Regions from separate parts of the Homo sapiens genome. Here regions 2 and 3 are each linked to region 1. The links are contacts of gene promoters, found by promoter capture Hi-C in human tissues and cell types (Jung and others, 2019). All regions are on one chromosome and are shown on one strand. The core of a region is centred on a gene start or on the middle of the fragment in contact, and the rest is flanking DNA. Distances in the headings are between cores, read along the strand shown. Region 1 holds the start of MAP3K1 (mitogen-activated protein kinase kinase kinase 1). Region 2 overlaps ANKRD55 (ankyrin repeat domain 55). Region 3 has its middle 58 kb from the start of IL6ST-DT.

Region 1 (4,896 bases), core at 2,227-4,726:
TTTCTTTTCGCACACACATACTCATGTTTTTAAATTTAATAATCAATTGTGTAATATTTAATTAAATTTCACAAGGAACATTGTAATAGGTGGAATCAAGTTTGGGAACAAGCACAATGGATTCTCATGGGACCCATAACTCACCTAGTGGGAACAGAAGTATGCAGGTGCACACCAGCCGCTGGCCTGAGCATTTATTGTGCTGTATCATCCCTCTGCATGTTGTACACCACACAGTAATGGCTGGTATCTGTTACTGGATGAGTCAGCTAAATGGAGGCTGGTTAAGAGACCTTCTACTATAATGTCATTTACAGTGCCCTTGTAGGGAACCAATTATCCCACTGATGACAGGATTTTCTGACTTAGAACATCTGAAAACACCTGGGAAGTATGTTGTCTGGAAAGAACATGCAGAAACCAAATTCTAGCCCCAGCACTCCTGCAAGTATTCCATAATAAATATTTGTAAGCTTGAAAGAACACCAGCTTTTACCCTATTCTCAAGGTTATATTATTCTTTTATGTTTATCTGAGGTATAGATCTCACAAACAGCCATGAATATGTGAATACATTCACATACTGATGGATCTGGAATTCTACCAGTCAGCCTGATAAATACCCACTAATAAAAATATCTGTAGATTGGAATATTTTGTTTATTCATTTTTGTAGAAATGAAAAACAACAAACAATATCCTCAGAGAAGAAAAATTCCTGCATATGCACAGTAGGTGCTTACTAAATATATGATGAATGATGTACAGGCTGAAATATTTCTCCCAATGTATATTATGTCTGCTCATTCTAATATTTGTGATATTTATGTACAGTGAGGAAATGCCCAGTGTCAAAGTGGATCCTCAACGTGAATATGCTGCAGGAACTGAAGTGTGATGTAGGCAGTTTCCAGAAGCACTATGTGGAGGCAGTGATCTGTAATGCACTGGTATTAAGGTTATTGAAATGGTCATGAAATTGCCATGAAATTGCATGCGTGAAATCATTGCAAGGTTTACGTCCCAGTGAGGATGGAAATGAAGAGCTTGGAAACAGGAATTGGAGCTTTCAGTCTAGAAACAACCTTGGAAGAAATACAAGTCTCCTGAATGTTATTAAATAAATCATATTAAGAGAATTCAGAGCCTACAGTACTTGATATTTGACATCCACCTCTCTGCAGTAACATAGCAGGACTGAAGAGCACCAAAACCAGCTAGAGTCTTAATCACGCATTAGACTCAGAAACTTCTATTAACATATGGCAGAGGGAGAACACCCTTTTCAGTTAAGCATGTCCTTTGATTCTCTCTTTAAGAAATCAGTGTGTCCATATGCAGATGCATAATGACAACCTGAATATTTACGTAAACAAAGAAAAAAATGACTCAAAGCAACAAAAACTGTGGGAAAATACCAACACTTAGGTTTCTCCATGGTAATACGTGGTGGATGGAGGAAGTGAGAGAATTGTAGCTAGTTCATAGTGCTGCGCTGGGTAGCCCTCTCCCTTTGATCCCCAGTTTCAACCACTGTACAAACAGTCAAAAATCAGTTTTGCTGGAATCTCCTTTTTACTCTGCTACTCTGGCTAAAGTCTTCCACTTACTTTTCTCACTTACAGGTACCTGAATATGTGCGTGCAAATGTAAAAGTCTTTAGATCAAAATAGGAACAAGGAAAGTTTATCCGTTTCAGTTTAGGATTTGGTGGGTGTGGCAACCCAGGAAGACCTGAGAAATAACCACTGTTTGGTTTGAATGATACATTTGACTGCCATTAAAATAGCATATAATTATAGCCTAAATGTAGACTTAATTTTTAACAGATTTATCTGAACTTTCAAAATTTGTACCGTTGGGTGTAACGATCTAAAACTATCTTATGGGAGATGTTACAGCAGTTTTCAAATCATTGAGCTAATATGAAATCTGGACTTTTTAAAACCCCTCTGATCTAACCTGGTTACGCAGTTAACATTGTATCTGGGAAAGGGGCTTTCATTTTACCTAGTCTCCAGAAGTCAATGGAATTATTCTGTAAATAGTTCAGGCTTTTGTCTAAATATGTGAAGACTGACAAGACTATCTCCGTGAGAATCCGCACCCCCCCACCCCAACCTCCCCCCTCCTTAATCATGTTTCACAAAGTAAATCTATAGACGTTCCTCCTGGGTTTTGGGAGATTCCCCATCCTAAACAAACCAGCTGGAGGAAAGGAAAGGAAGGAAGAAATAAACGCAACACAGAAGTTCTCCTCAGTTGACAAAAGGTCAAAAATCATTAACGTGTAAATGTTGCTTTTTCCATCCCAAAGCACCTTCTCACGTAGAGTCCAGGGACTAGGAGGACTCACAACGCAGCGATGGGCAGCCAGGCCCTGCAGGAGTGGGGACAGAGGGAACCCGGCCGGTGGCCCGACCCTGCAGGGAAGAAGGACGTGCGGCGAGAAGCATCGGATTCGGGGAGGGCCGGGACCTGGCCGAGGGTGACATTACCGAGCACTTCCTGGCACAGCGCTGGTCCCCTCCCCAAACGCGCTATATGTGGTTCTGTACGGGACTGCCTTTCCCAAAGACAGCCAAGGAAAAACTAAAGATCGACGGGGACACCCGCCTCCCTTCCTCGCCCCAACGGTTTCTCAGAGGCTGTGGGGACTTGGTGAGGGTAGGGGGTAGTTGTCCCAAATCAGCAGCTTCAGGATGTAAGGTATTACAGAAAACTTTGAAGTTTTGTTATCTGTAGCACAGGGACAGGGGTGGGACAATAGAGAAGGAATGTTTTCTTTTCAAAAGAAAACACAAACAAAACTTTATTTTTCTGGTCCGCGGCAGCCTGTCTGCTGAACGTTGACTTGCTTTCGCTTTGCAGCAGGCGACGGTCCCGGGCGCCACCTGCGCGTCGGTGGGAGGCTGGTCCACGCCCGGGTCCCCCGACGCCCACTGCAAAGGGCAGTGGGAATGACAGACTGTAAACCCTCTCGCCTGCGTCCCCTTCAAGCACCAGAAACCCAAGTTGGAACTAATTCTTTCTTTCGGAAGGTGCAACTCCCCTCCCGCGAGCTCCGCGGTGCCGGGCCGAGATTGCCGAGAGGAAGCGGCGCAGCGCTGCCGCCAAGGCTCCTCCTGTCGCCGGTGCGGCCGGGACTACCTGGCGGCGCGGCGCGTGCAGCGCGCAGAGTCCCGGGAGCCCACGCCTCCGCCTCCGCCCCCGCCCCCTCCGCCTCCCAGTCCACCTCGCCCGCCCGCCCTCTCGCCCGGCGGAGAGCACAGCCCACTCCCTCCCACCTGCGGCCGCCGGGCCGCCCTCCACCCACACCTCTGCCGCAGGCCGGACCCAGTGCGCCCGCCCGTCGGTCAGTCCAGGCCAGGCGCCCGGCGGGCCGCGCTCACGCAGTTGGCGCAGGAGGCCTTACGCTGGCGGCGCAGTGCCCGCCCCCTGCGCTCTCCCCGCCCCCTCCCTCCCTCGCAGGGGCCGAGCGAATGTAGCCCGCGAGAGAAAATGGCGGCGGCGGCGGGGAATCGCGCCTCGTCGTCGGGATTCCCGGGCGCCAGGGCTACGAGCCCTGAGGCAGGCGGCGGCGGAGGAGCCCTCAAGGCGAGCAGCGCGCCCGCGGCTGCCGCGGGACTGCTGCGGGAGGCGGGCAGCGGGGGCCGCGAGCGGGCGGACTGGCGGCGGCGGCAGCTGCGCAAAGTGCGGAGTGTGGAGCTGGACCAGCTGCCTGAGCAGCCGCTCTTCCTTGCCGCCTCACCGCCGGCCTCCTCGACTTCCCCGTCGCCGGAGCCCGCGGACGCAGCGGGGAGTGGGACCGGCTTCCAGCCTGTGGCGGTGCCGCCGCCCCACGGAGCCGCGAGCCGCGGCGGCGCCCACCTTACCGAGTCGGTGGCGGCGCCGGACAGCGGCGCCTCGAGTCCCGCAGCGGCCGAGCCCGGGGAGAAGCGGGCGCCCGCCGCCGAGCCGTCTCCTGCAGCGGCCCCCGCCGGGTGAGCAGCACGGCCGGGGTCGCGGCGGGGACTTGGAGAGCGGGCAGAGGGCAATGAATGAACCCCGGGCACCATGCACGGCGTCCCGGGGTTCAGCGCAGCGAGGCTACGCGCCGCTCGCCGGGACCTACGCCCCTGAGCACCCCCCGACCCCTTCGGAGTCGGGCGGCGCCCCGGACCCAGCCTGGGGGACCGGACGGGGACGTGCGGAAGAGTTTGTTATTGTTTGCAGACATGTGACAGGCGTGCGAGCCTCTCTGCGGGGAACCGTTGCGAAAAGGTGTAGGGGGCCACGGCTGGCTTTGTGGGACTCCTGGAATCGGGGCTCTCCGAGGAGCCCGGGGGCGGGGCACGGCCCTGCGGCGGCGCCCCCGGACGGGTGTCCCCGGGGCAAAGGCACTGGGGGGCGAGGCCCGAGCCTGAGGCGGGCGGTGGTCGGAAGAGGGGCGGGGTGGGTGAGAAGCCCGAGGTCGGGTGGGAGACTGAGAGGACCGAAGAGAAAGTAGCAGGTCCCAGCGGCCGTGACAGGCAGAGCCCCTCGGCCCGCCCGGGACTCGAGTCCCTAGGCAGATACCGCGGGCTGGGCCCGGACGCAGGCGGCGCGCCCCCAGCGCCGGCCGCAGGGCTCCAGGAGGACGGCTCGGTAACGCCTGTCAAAGCCGTGCGGCGGGAGGCTGCACACTCGCGGAGGCTTGCAGTCTTTTAGGAAGTGCGGTTTGTCTAATTGCAGCCCCCAAGGGGCTTTGAGTGTTCCTGGGAATGCGAACTGCACTGCTAAGTCACTTGAGTGACTTCTGTTTGGAGTTTGAATTTGGCCTTTGAAGTTTGCATTTGGCGGAGTGGTGTAAGAGCCAGGACCGGATGTGTCAGCCATTCAGTTTCAAAGCAGTGGTGACTGCTCCCCGCAGCCCCT
Region 2 (4,652 bases), core at 1,791-4,290, 710 kb before region 1:
AGGTGGTAACAATAACAATGAAAACAATGATAGCTACACTTTATTGCATTTCTGTTATATACCAGTCACTGTTTAAATGATAGAAAAAGGTACTAGAAATCATTTCTTGAGAGTACTAGTTTAAATAAAATTTTATAAAGAAACACACTGGGTTACTCACCCCATAAAAGTTAAAGTTGAAAAAAAAGGAAATAATATAGATATGGCATCTCTTATATATTCATCAAATCTTTGATGAAATGAGTGGGTGATGAGTAGAGTATTTTCTTCTAAAGCAGAGTTTCTCAGTCCTGGCTGCACATAGGAATTATCTAAGAAGCTAGAAAACATACTGCTTTCCTGGCCACATCCCAGGTTATTAGATCAGAATCTCTGGAGGTGGGGCATGGTGTCAGCTGTTTATCAGCTCCCAGCTGATTCAAGTGCAGCCAGGATGGAGAATCATTGACCTGGAAGACGGAATGGGGTAGATGCACTCAGGAAACCTATTCTTTAACTTGGACAGAAAGCAGTGGTGTGTGCATGGACCATGTGAGCCAGCTCTTGAGAGCTGATGGTTACATTTTCAGAAATTTTGTGAACTGTTTGACATCACACTAGTGTCTTGAAATCAGCCATGGTGGGTGTATTTACACCGTGAAAAATCAGCAAGCACAGATTTTTCTCCTGGAAAGCTAGCTGTTAAACATTCATCAATGTACTACTGACTTTAAGATACGGATGTTCGATACCTGAAAATAGAAGGGAACACACAAATGTGATTTAAATCCATTTTAAAATTGACTGGATGGTGTCATGAATAGGAGCTTGGTTGGGCTCTGGGGTCAAACAGAATTAGGCTTGATTCCCTGCTTCCCCACTTTTCAGTTATATGACATTGGGCAAATGATATTACCTCTCAACACCTCAATTTTTTCATATACAAAATGGTGAAAATAATTGTATATCTTTTCCACTTGTCATGAGGATTAAACTGGAGAACAAGGGTAAAGCATTTAGCTTATAGGGTAAAGTACTCAAAAGACCTTAACAAAAAAAGATTATTTGATCTTTTGCCTATCAGTCTAGTAAGAAAGAACCAGAATTGCTATAGCAATGCTCCTAGACTTTAAGGGTCTTCTGTTGGAGCAAAATAGCATAAGAAAAAAAGAAAAAACAAAAGGATTAGCCAAGAACAACTTGCATCTGTTTAAGTGAATCTCATGGTGGATGGTCTGTGCAGAAGCGGCCACCTCAGCAATGTTAGTTGATGGAGATTAAATCTCCAGTCTCCCTGGTGGATATTTTGCCATTATATTTTATCCTTTTGAACACTGAACATCAAATAACTTCAGGAGCCATTATTTACAGAGAAAATATTCCTGTGTAGAATTAACATGAAAATTTATATTAGCGAACAACTATTTATCCATGAACACTTGAGCAGAAATTTGTAAAACCAACGAGATAATAATTTTGAGTTATGTTTATGGAACACTTACTTTTGTCAGGAATAGGGATAAATGCTGTAGGCATAATCTTATTTAACTCTGACAATCACTTTTTCTTGTGAGATACATTCTATTATCATCCTCATTTTACAAATGAGGACCTTGTGACTTGGAGGAGTTCTAAAAGTGCTCAAGTCACACGCTAGGAAGGGACACAGCCTAGACTTCAACCCTATAGGGCTGACCCTGTAACTTCTATTATTCTGCCTCCTCTAAGCAGATGGGAGCAGTGGGCAAAGAAGGGCTACAGCAGTGACTCGGAGATGAAGGGGAGTTAAACTTTATTCCATGTTGGCATTTTGCTCAGTTTTCAGGGACAGGGTGGAGCCGTGCATAGCCCAAAGCTGTCTGGTGCTGCAGGCAACTCCAGGGAGTGTTCAGCTTTGGGGACAGGGTCAAGGACCACTGTCCTAGAAAAAAAGGATAGGAAATGTTTTCACAGTTACATGATGGAACCCGAGGTGACTGCAGGATTAATAATAATAATAATGATAATAACAATAATAAATAGATAATTCAGCAATCATCCATTGAGCACTCATCATATTCCAGACCCTAGAGTACAAAGAGGAGAAAGCAAGGCGTTCAGGAGGGGATTGCAATTGATGTGGGAGGAAAGACAGGTAAACATATGGTTTTGAAGCTCCATGAGTAGTGCTGTGATAGAGTTTGTGAGGGCATTGCAGAGGAAGGAATGGTCCAGAGAAGTTGAGGTTTTCTGGGATCCCATAGACCTTGTTCCAGTATCTCCTCTGCCACTTCCTAGCTAGCTCTGTGACCTTAGGCAGATGAGCTAACCTCTCTGTCTCAATTTCTTCAGTTATAAAGAGGATAAAATCTCTCCTGCAATGTTGTGGAAAGTGAAGTGTGTAGGTGTGTAGGTCAGCAAGGTGGAGCTATTCTTTTTTTTTTTTTTTTTTGGAGACAGTGTCTCACTCTGTTTCTCAGGATGGAATGCAGTAGTGCCATCGTGGCTCACGGCAACCTCTGCCTCCCGGGTTCCAGCAATTCTCCTGCCTCAGCCTCCTGAGTAGCTGGAACTACAGGCGTGCGCCACCACACCAGGCTAATTTTTGTATTTTTAGTAGAGATGGGGTTTCACCATGTTGGCCAGGCTGATCTTGAACTCCTGACCTCAGGTGATCCACCCGTCTCAGCCTCCCAAAGTGTTGGGATTACAGGCGTGAGCCACCGTGCCCGGCCAGGTGGAGCTGTTCTTATTAGCAGTCCTAAGAAAGAGCCATATTTCCTACAGAGATCAGGGTGACCTTCACATATTATAGAAGGTGAGTTTTGAGCTGGTTCTTAAAAGATTGTAGGAATCGGTCAAGCACACAGTGGAGAGAACCCAAAATAATAACAAGGGCCAAGATGTCATAGAATGGAAAGGTATGAAATTGTCAAGAAACTGAGACATATTCAAGGAACTTCTGAAGAGGTAGGGGTGGGGATTTGAGATGGGCGGTGCAGAAGCTGAGCATGACCATGCCGTGAGGTCTGACCATGCCGTGAGGGCTTTGTTTGCCCAGTTTAGAACCCTGGCCTTTGTCCTGAAAAGATGCAAAACGTTTGATGGGTTTAGACAGAAGGATCACAGGATCAGACCTAACCAGCCAGAAGAGTGCATTGTTGGCTGAGATAGTCTAGAAAATTCTAGAGAAGGAAGCTCTCTTTTGCAGGAGAAAGGAAATGCACACTTTTTTACTTTTCTTGTGACGGCTTATAAATAACCAGGCTAGCAGACAATACCACAGAGCTTTCTGTTCCATTTTCTCTGAAAGCTGCCTGCAATGAATTAAGCTGACGTGCTCCAAATTCCAAGTCTCTAGGATAAGTGCTTCATCCCCCATCTTGCTGCATCCAACCTCTGACAGGTCTCAATAAATGTTAAGCAATAATCATTACAGCTAAATGTTCAGGGCTGCTGATGTAAGCATTGGATAGTGGCTGCCTGGAATTTTAACAGCAGCACTACTAACTCATATTATTTCTACCAAACCCAGGGCAGGAAAGGAGGAAATCCAAAGATAAAGGGACAATCCAAGTTCAAGTCAGTGCTATAGTGGGATGATTTATCCAACTGCTTTACCACATTAAACTTTCACATAAAGTTTCAACTCTCCTAGACTAACAACAACGACAACACCCACTTCAGTGTAGTGCAGAAGCCTCAGTGATCTCAAAACAATTATTGTTAAAAATGATCACAAAAATAAAATCCGTAAGGCTAGGAAAGCTTTTTTTTTTTTTTTTTTTTTTTGAGACATAGTCTTGCTCTGTCGCCCAGGCTGGAGTGCAGGTGCGATCTCGGCTCACTGCAACCTCTGCCTCCTGAGTTCAAGCGATTCTCCCACCTCAGCCTCCACAGTAGCTGGGACTACAGGCGCCCGCCACCACACCTGGCTAATTTTTGTATTTTTGTATTTTTAGTAGAGATGGGGTTTCACTATGTTGGCCAGGCTGGTCTCGAACTCCTGACCTCAGGTGATCCGCCTACCTTGGCCTCCCAAAGTGCTGGGATTACAGGCATGAGCCACCACACCCAGCCTTAGTGGCTCATATCTATAATGCCAGCATTTTGGGAGGCCAAGATGGGAGGATTGCTTGAGGCCAGGGGTTCTAGACTAGTCTGGGTAACAAAGTGAGACCCTTGTCTCTACAAAAAAATGATGACAAAAAAATTAGCCAGAGGAGGAGATGTGTCTGTAGTTCCAGTTACATGGGAGGTTGAGATGGGAGGATTGCTTAAGCCCAGGAGTTTGAGGCTGAAGTGAGCTATGATCAAGCCACAGTACTCCAGCCTGGGTGACAGATCCTATCTCTCTCTAAAAAAAAAAAAAAAAAAAAATCCCTCACTCTCTTTTGATAAATCAACTGTGATAAACACTCAGCAATCATTTAATGTTTGATCAAATGACTAAGCTCCTTTCCATTTTTGAAACCCTATGACTGTATCTAAACATGAGAAGAAAGTCAATTTAAAGTCAGTTGCAGAAGCATTTTAGTAAATCTATACCCCTTAAAGCTGATTTATAGGCTGAAAACACTTGGGAAATTTATCTTATCATGACTCAGTTGCCTAGAATGGCTCCTAGTTATAATCAGCACTCAGAAAAATTGGTTGAAAAAAATATTTGATATAGGCAGATTCCATTGGAGAAA
Region 3 (4,398 bases), core at 426-2,925, 760 kb before region 1:
TATTTTAATGTTTTCCATAGTTGTAAATTTTCACAAAGAGATCCATGATTCTATGAGGAGTCTATTATAAAATATGCTATCTACTCACTTTGAATCTTGTCTAAGTTAACCTCTTTTCTTTTCTATAAAATAGGTATTGAACTTTATGAAAAGAACCAAAATGATCTTCACTGGAGTTGGTTAGGATCATTAGCTTTATCACATAAAAGCTTCTGGATTTTTTTGTTTATTTGTTTTTTATTTGGGGTTTATCTTTGTCTGTTTTCTGTTGCTTATACCAGAATACATGAAGCTGGGTAGTTGATTTAAAAAAAGGAATTTATTTTTTACAATTATAAGAAATGAACTTATTTCTTTTTTTTTTTTTGAGACGGAGTCTCGCTCTGTCGCCCAGGCTGGAGTGCAGTGGCGGGATCTCGGCTCACTGCAAGCTCCGCCTCCCGGGTTCACGCCATTCTCCTGCCTCAGCCTCCCAAGTAGCTGGGACTACAGGCGCCCACCACTACGCCCGGCTAATTTTTTGTATTTTTAGTAGAGACGGGGTTTCACCGTTTTAGCCGGGATGGTCTCGATCTCCTGACCTCGTGATCCGCCCGCCTCGGCCTCCCAAAGTGCTGGGATTACAGGCGTGAGCCACCGCGCCCGGCCATGAACTTATTTCTTATAAGGCTGGCAAGAAGGTCAAGCCTGAGGCTGACAAGTCCAAAGTCAAGAGGCTGAATCTGGTGAGGGCCTTCTTGCTGATGGGGACTCTCTGCAGAGTCCTGAGGTGGTACAGGGGCTGAGCATGCTAGCTCATCTTCTTCCTCTTCTTGTAAAGCCACCAGTCCCCTCTCATGAAAACTTGTTGATCCATTAGTCCATTAATCCATTAATCCCTCTTGACCCAAGCACCTCTTAAAGGCCTCAGCTCTCAATACTGTCACATTGGGGATTAAATTACAACACGAGGCCAGGTGTGGTGGCTCACACCTGTAATCCCAGCACTTTGGGAGGCCAAGTCGGGTGGATCATGAGGTCAGGAGATTGAGACCATCCTGGCTAACCTGGTGAAACCCCATCTCTACTAAAAATACAAAAAATTAGCTGGGCGTGGTGGCACACACCTGTAGTCCCAGCTATTTGGGAGGCTGAGGCATGATAATCGCTTGAACCCGGGAGGCAGAGGTTGTGGTGAGCTGAGATTGCATGATTGCACTCCAGCCTGGGCAATAAGAGTGAAACTCCGTCTCAAAAAAAAAAAAAAAAAAAAAAAAAAATTACAACACAAGCTTTGGAGAGGATAGATATTCAAACTATAGCAGGACTGATCTTAAAAATCAGTTGCTAAACATTATGTTTTGTTAAACATGTTTCAGTTGTTCAACATGTTTTGTGCTAAATTCATAGATTGTATTTTGATCACATCAGTGGGAATGACTTTCATATCAATGGATCAAGATTAATTTGATGAGATAAAGTATAACTCATTTTAAAGAAAATTCTAAAGTCACTACATATGGTGTGGTGATTTCAGCTTGGCAAACACTAGAACAAAACCATTATGTAGCCAATGCCCTGTGGTCTGTCATATACTCAAATACATACCATATGTGTTGTGTCAGCATGCCAGATTACTTTTGTACCTCTACTCTGTGGAAAATATTCAAATGCTATGATAATGACCAGATAAATAGTAATGATAAGTCAATGAGTCCCGAGTGTCCAAAGTGTAACTTGAATGGATTAAAGAATAACTAGGTTGTCTAACATCATCCTGATATGGACAGGAGGCAGGGAAATACTAGGTAGAAAAGGATGGGGTCCCTGGAAAGGGCTCTACTCTCAAGCCTGGACCCACAGCCCTAAATGAGAGCATGCATTCCTGTTTTCTTGCCCAAACGTTGCCTTTTCAAAACCACCCTGGCCCACCACACCCCCCAATCCTGTACCCATAAAAACCCCAAGGGTCACTGGCAGAGGAGCAGAGCAGAGTGGCAGAGAAGGAGAGAAGAGAAGAAGCAGCTGGACATCGGAGAAAAGCAGTTTGACTTCAGAGGGATGGTTTGATGGGTGGGACTTTGGGGAAGAATTTGGCTGAGGATGGCCGAACTCCAGGGGAAGATTATCTTCCCACTCCATCCCCCTTCCAGCTCCCTTTCTCACTGAGAGCCACTTCCACCACTCAATAAAATCCTCCTTGTACACTACCCTTCAATCTGTTTATGTGACCTGATTCTTCCTGGATGCCAGACAAGAACTTAGGTACTAAGAGGGCAGGGTATAAAAGGCTGTCACCTTGACCCTCCACTAAGCTGGTTAATGCTTAAGCTGTTCACAGATGGCAAAGCTAAAGGAACACACTGTAACACACACCCTCTGGGGCTCCAGGGGTCACGGGCAATCCCTAGATGCTGCCACGGGCTGGTAGGGGTTTCCTTCCCACCAGCGCCCAAAGACACTCACTGTGGCTCCTGCACCCACCTACCTGTGTGGTCTGCCTCCAGCAAGGAGTTTGAGTGCTGCAGGCTGAGTAAGTGAGCCACCCCTTTGCAAGTCCCGTGAAAAGGTCAAAGGAATGATCCCATCTCAGTCCTATGAACTAGTTCCCCAAATAGGCTGCTCATCAGAAACCAACAGAGAGGTCTAAAACTTTGTAAAATTTAAATCTAGTAAAATTCACACTTTTGGGGGCTCTATGAGTTTTGACATATGCTTGTCACTACCACCACAATCAAGTGACACAACTTGGGGTAGAACAGTCCATCACCCCTCCAGAAATGCCCTGTGCTCAAATACCCCTTTGTGCTCAAAACCCAGCCTCAGCCTTTCAATCCTGGAAACCACTAATCTGTTCTCCTTCACTATGGTTTTGCATTTTCCAGCATGTCATATAAATGGAATACAGTATGGAAAATGGGTTGTATCCCTGCGTATAATACACTGGAGAGTCATCCTTGCTGTTGCATGTGTGTTCTTTTTAATTGCTGAGTACTATTCCATTGTACAGATGTATCACTGTTTCTCTGTGTGTTACTCAACTGAGAGACATTTGGGTTTTTACCAGGTTTGGGTGATTATGAATAAAAATATTATAACTATTCATGTATATAGTTCATTGTAGGAACATGTTTCCACTTATCTTAGGTAAATACCTAAAAGTGAGATACCTGAGAAGTTTTGAAAAATATTCCCCTTCCCATGGATTTGCAATTTCTTCAGTATGGGGCCTTGGAATATATACTTTAAAAATGCTCCTCTAGTGTAATTTCTTTGTTTTTTGGAGACCAGAGTCTTGCTCTGTTGCCCAGGCTGGAGTGTAGTGGTGCAATCTCGGCTCACTGCAACCTCTGTCCCCCTGGTTCAAGTGATTCTTATGCCTCAGCCTCCCGAGTAGCTGGGATTACAGGTGTACACCACTGCACCCAGATAATTTTTGTATTTTTAGTAGAGATGGGGTTTCGCCATGTTGGCCAGGCTGGTCTTGAACTCCTGGCCTCAAGGGATTTGCCTGCCTCAGCCTCCCAAAATGCTGAGATTACAGGCATGAGCCATAGCCCAAGTGTGATTTTTTAATGGGTAAGGAATGTCCTTGCGAGTGGTGAAACTTCTTGGAAATAGTTAGAGGTAATGATTGCACAACATTGTGTATGTACTAAATGCCACTGAATTGTATGCTTTAAAATGGTTAATGGTTAATTTTATGTCATATACATTTTATCTCAATTTTTAAAAAACCTAAAAAAATGTGCTCCCAGGTCATTCTGATATTTGGAAGATCTGATCTTGGAAGGTTGTACCTGGCTGGACTTTATGTTAAAAGATCTTTATTTATTTATTTATTTTGAGATGAAGTTTTGCTCTTGCTGCCCAGGCTGGAGTGCAATGGTGCAATCTCAGCTCATTGTAACCTCTGCCTCCTGGGTTCAAGAGATTCTCCTGTCTCAGCCTCCCAGGTAGCTGGGATTATAGGCACCCGCCACTACACCCGGCTAATTTTAAAAGATCTCTATACTGATCTCAGCCTCTGGGTCTTGGTCCAATCTTCTCCTTGTGAATCTGTAACAAACTGAATTCTCTTTAGAAAGTTTGAGGAATCTTAAAAAATTGTTGATAGTTAGCAGGTAAGCCTGTAGCTTTTGTGCTATCTTGGAGATTGCTCCTGGCTCACATGGACCCAGAGTTCTGAGGTCATCATCTCTGCTGTGGTCTAACCAGAGCTCTGAGGGCTCAGCATAGGTCTGGATCCAATTTCTCTGAGTGGAGTAGCGTGGGTGAGATCCTTCTTACCAGAGGATTAGCAAGGCTAGACTAGTCCTAGAGTCTGTTGAGACAGTCTACAGAATAATTTTGAGTGCTTGGGATTGACTGGCTATCAATTTGCATCTCTCTGGGGTTTTTACTATTTACCAATAGATA

Evidence for each region. Contacts are between HindIII fragments. The study calls those that stand out against the background at their distance.
Region 2: a contact is called between a fragment that was not itself captured here and the fragment with the promoter of MAP3K1 in region 1, in 1 of the 25 tissues and cell types used here (dorsolateral prefrontal cortex).
Region 3: a fragment that was not itself captured here is called in contact with the fragment with the promoter of MAP3K1 in region 1 in 1 of the 25 tissues and cell types used here (heart left ventricle).

Annotation. Positions count from the first base shown.
Region 1 is chr5:56,812,073-56,816,968 of GRCh38, forward strand. MAP3K1 (mitogen-activated protein kinase kinase kinase 1) reads left to right here and starts at 3,477. Exons shown (of 20, transcript NM_005921.2): 1 at 3,477-3,983. The coding sequence starts at 3,502. RefSeq lists enhancers at 2,705-2,834, 4,286-4,896 and silencers at 3,195-3,964, 4,035-4,154, 4,335-4,574. The HindIII fragment of the contact is 12,718 bases long and covers 1-4,896 here.
Region 2 is chr5:56,102,694-56,107,345 of GRCh38, forward strand. All of the region lies in intron 10 of ANKRD55 (ankyrin repeat domain 55), which reads right to left. Among named protein-coding and RNA genes, the nearest start is that of IL6ST-DT, 110 kb to the left of the region's middle. The HindIII fragment of the contact is 3,018 bases long and covers 1,532-4,549 here.
Region 3 is chr5:56,051,281-56,055,678 of GRCh38, forward strand. No RefSeq gene overlaps it. Among named protein-coding and RNA genes, the nearest start is that of IL6ST-DT, 58 kb to the left of the region's middle. The HindIII fragment of the contact is 6,560 bases long and covers 1-4,398 here.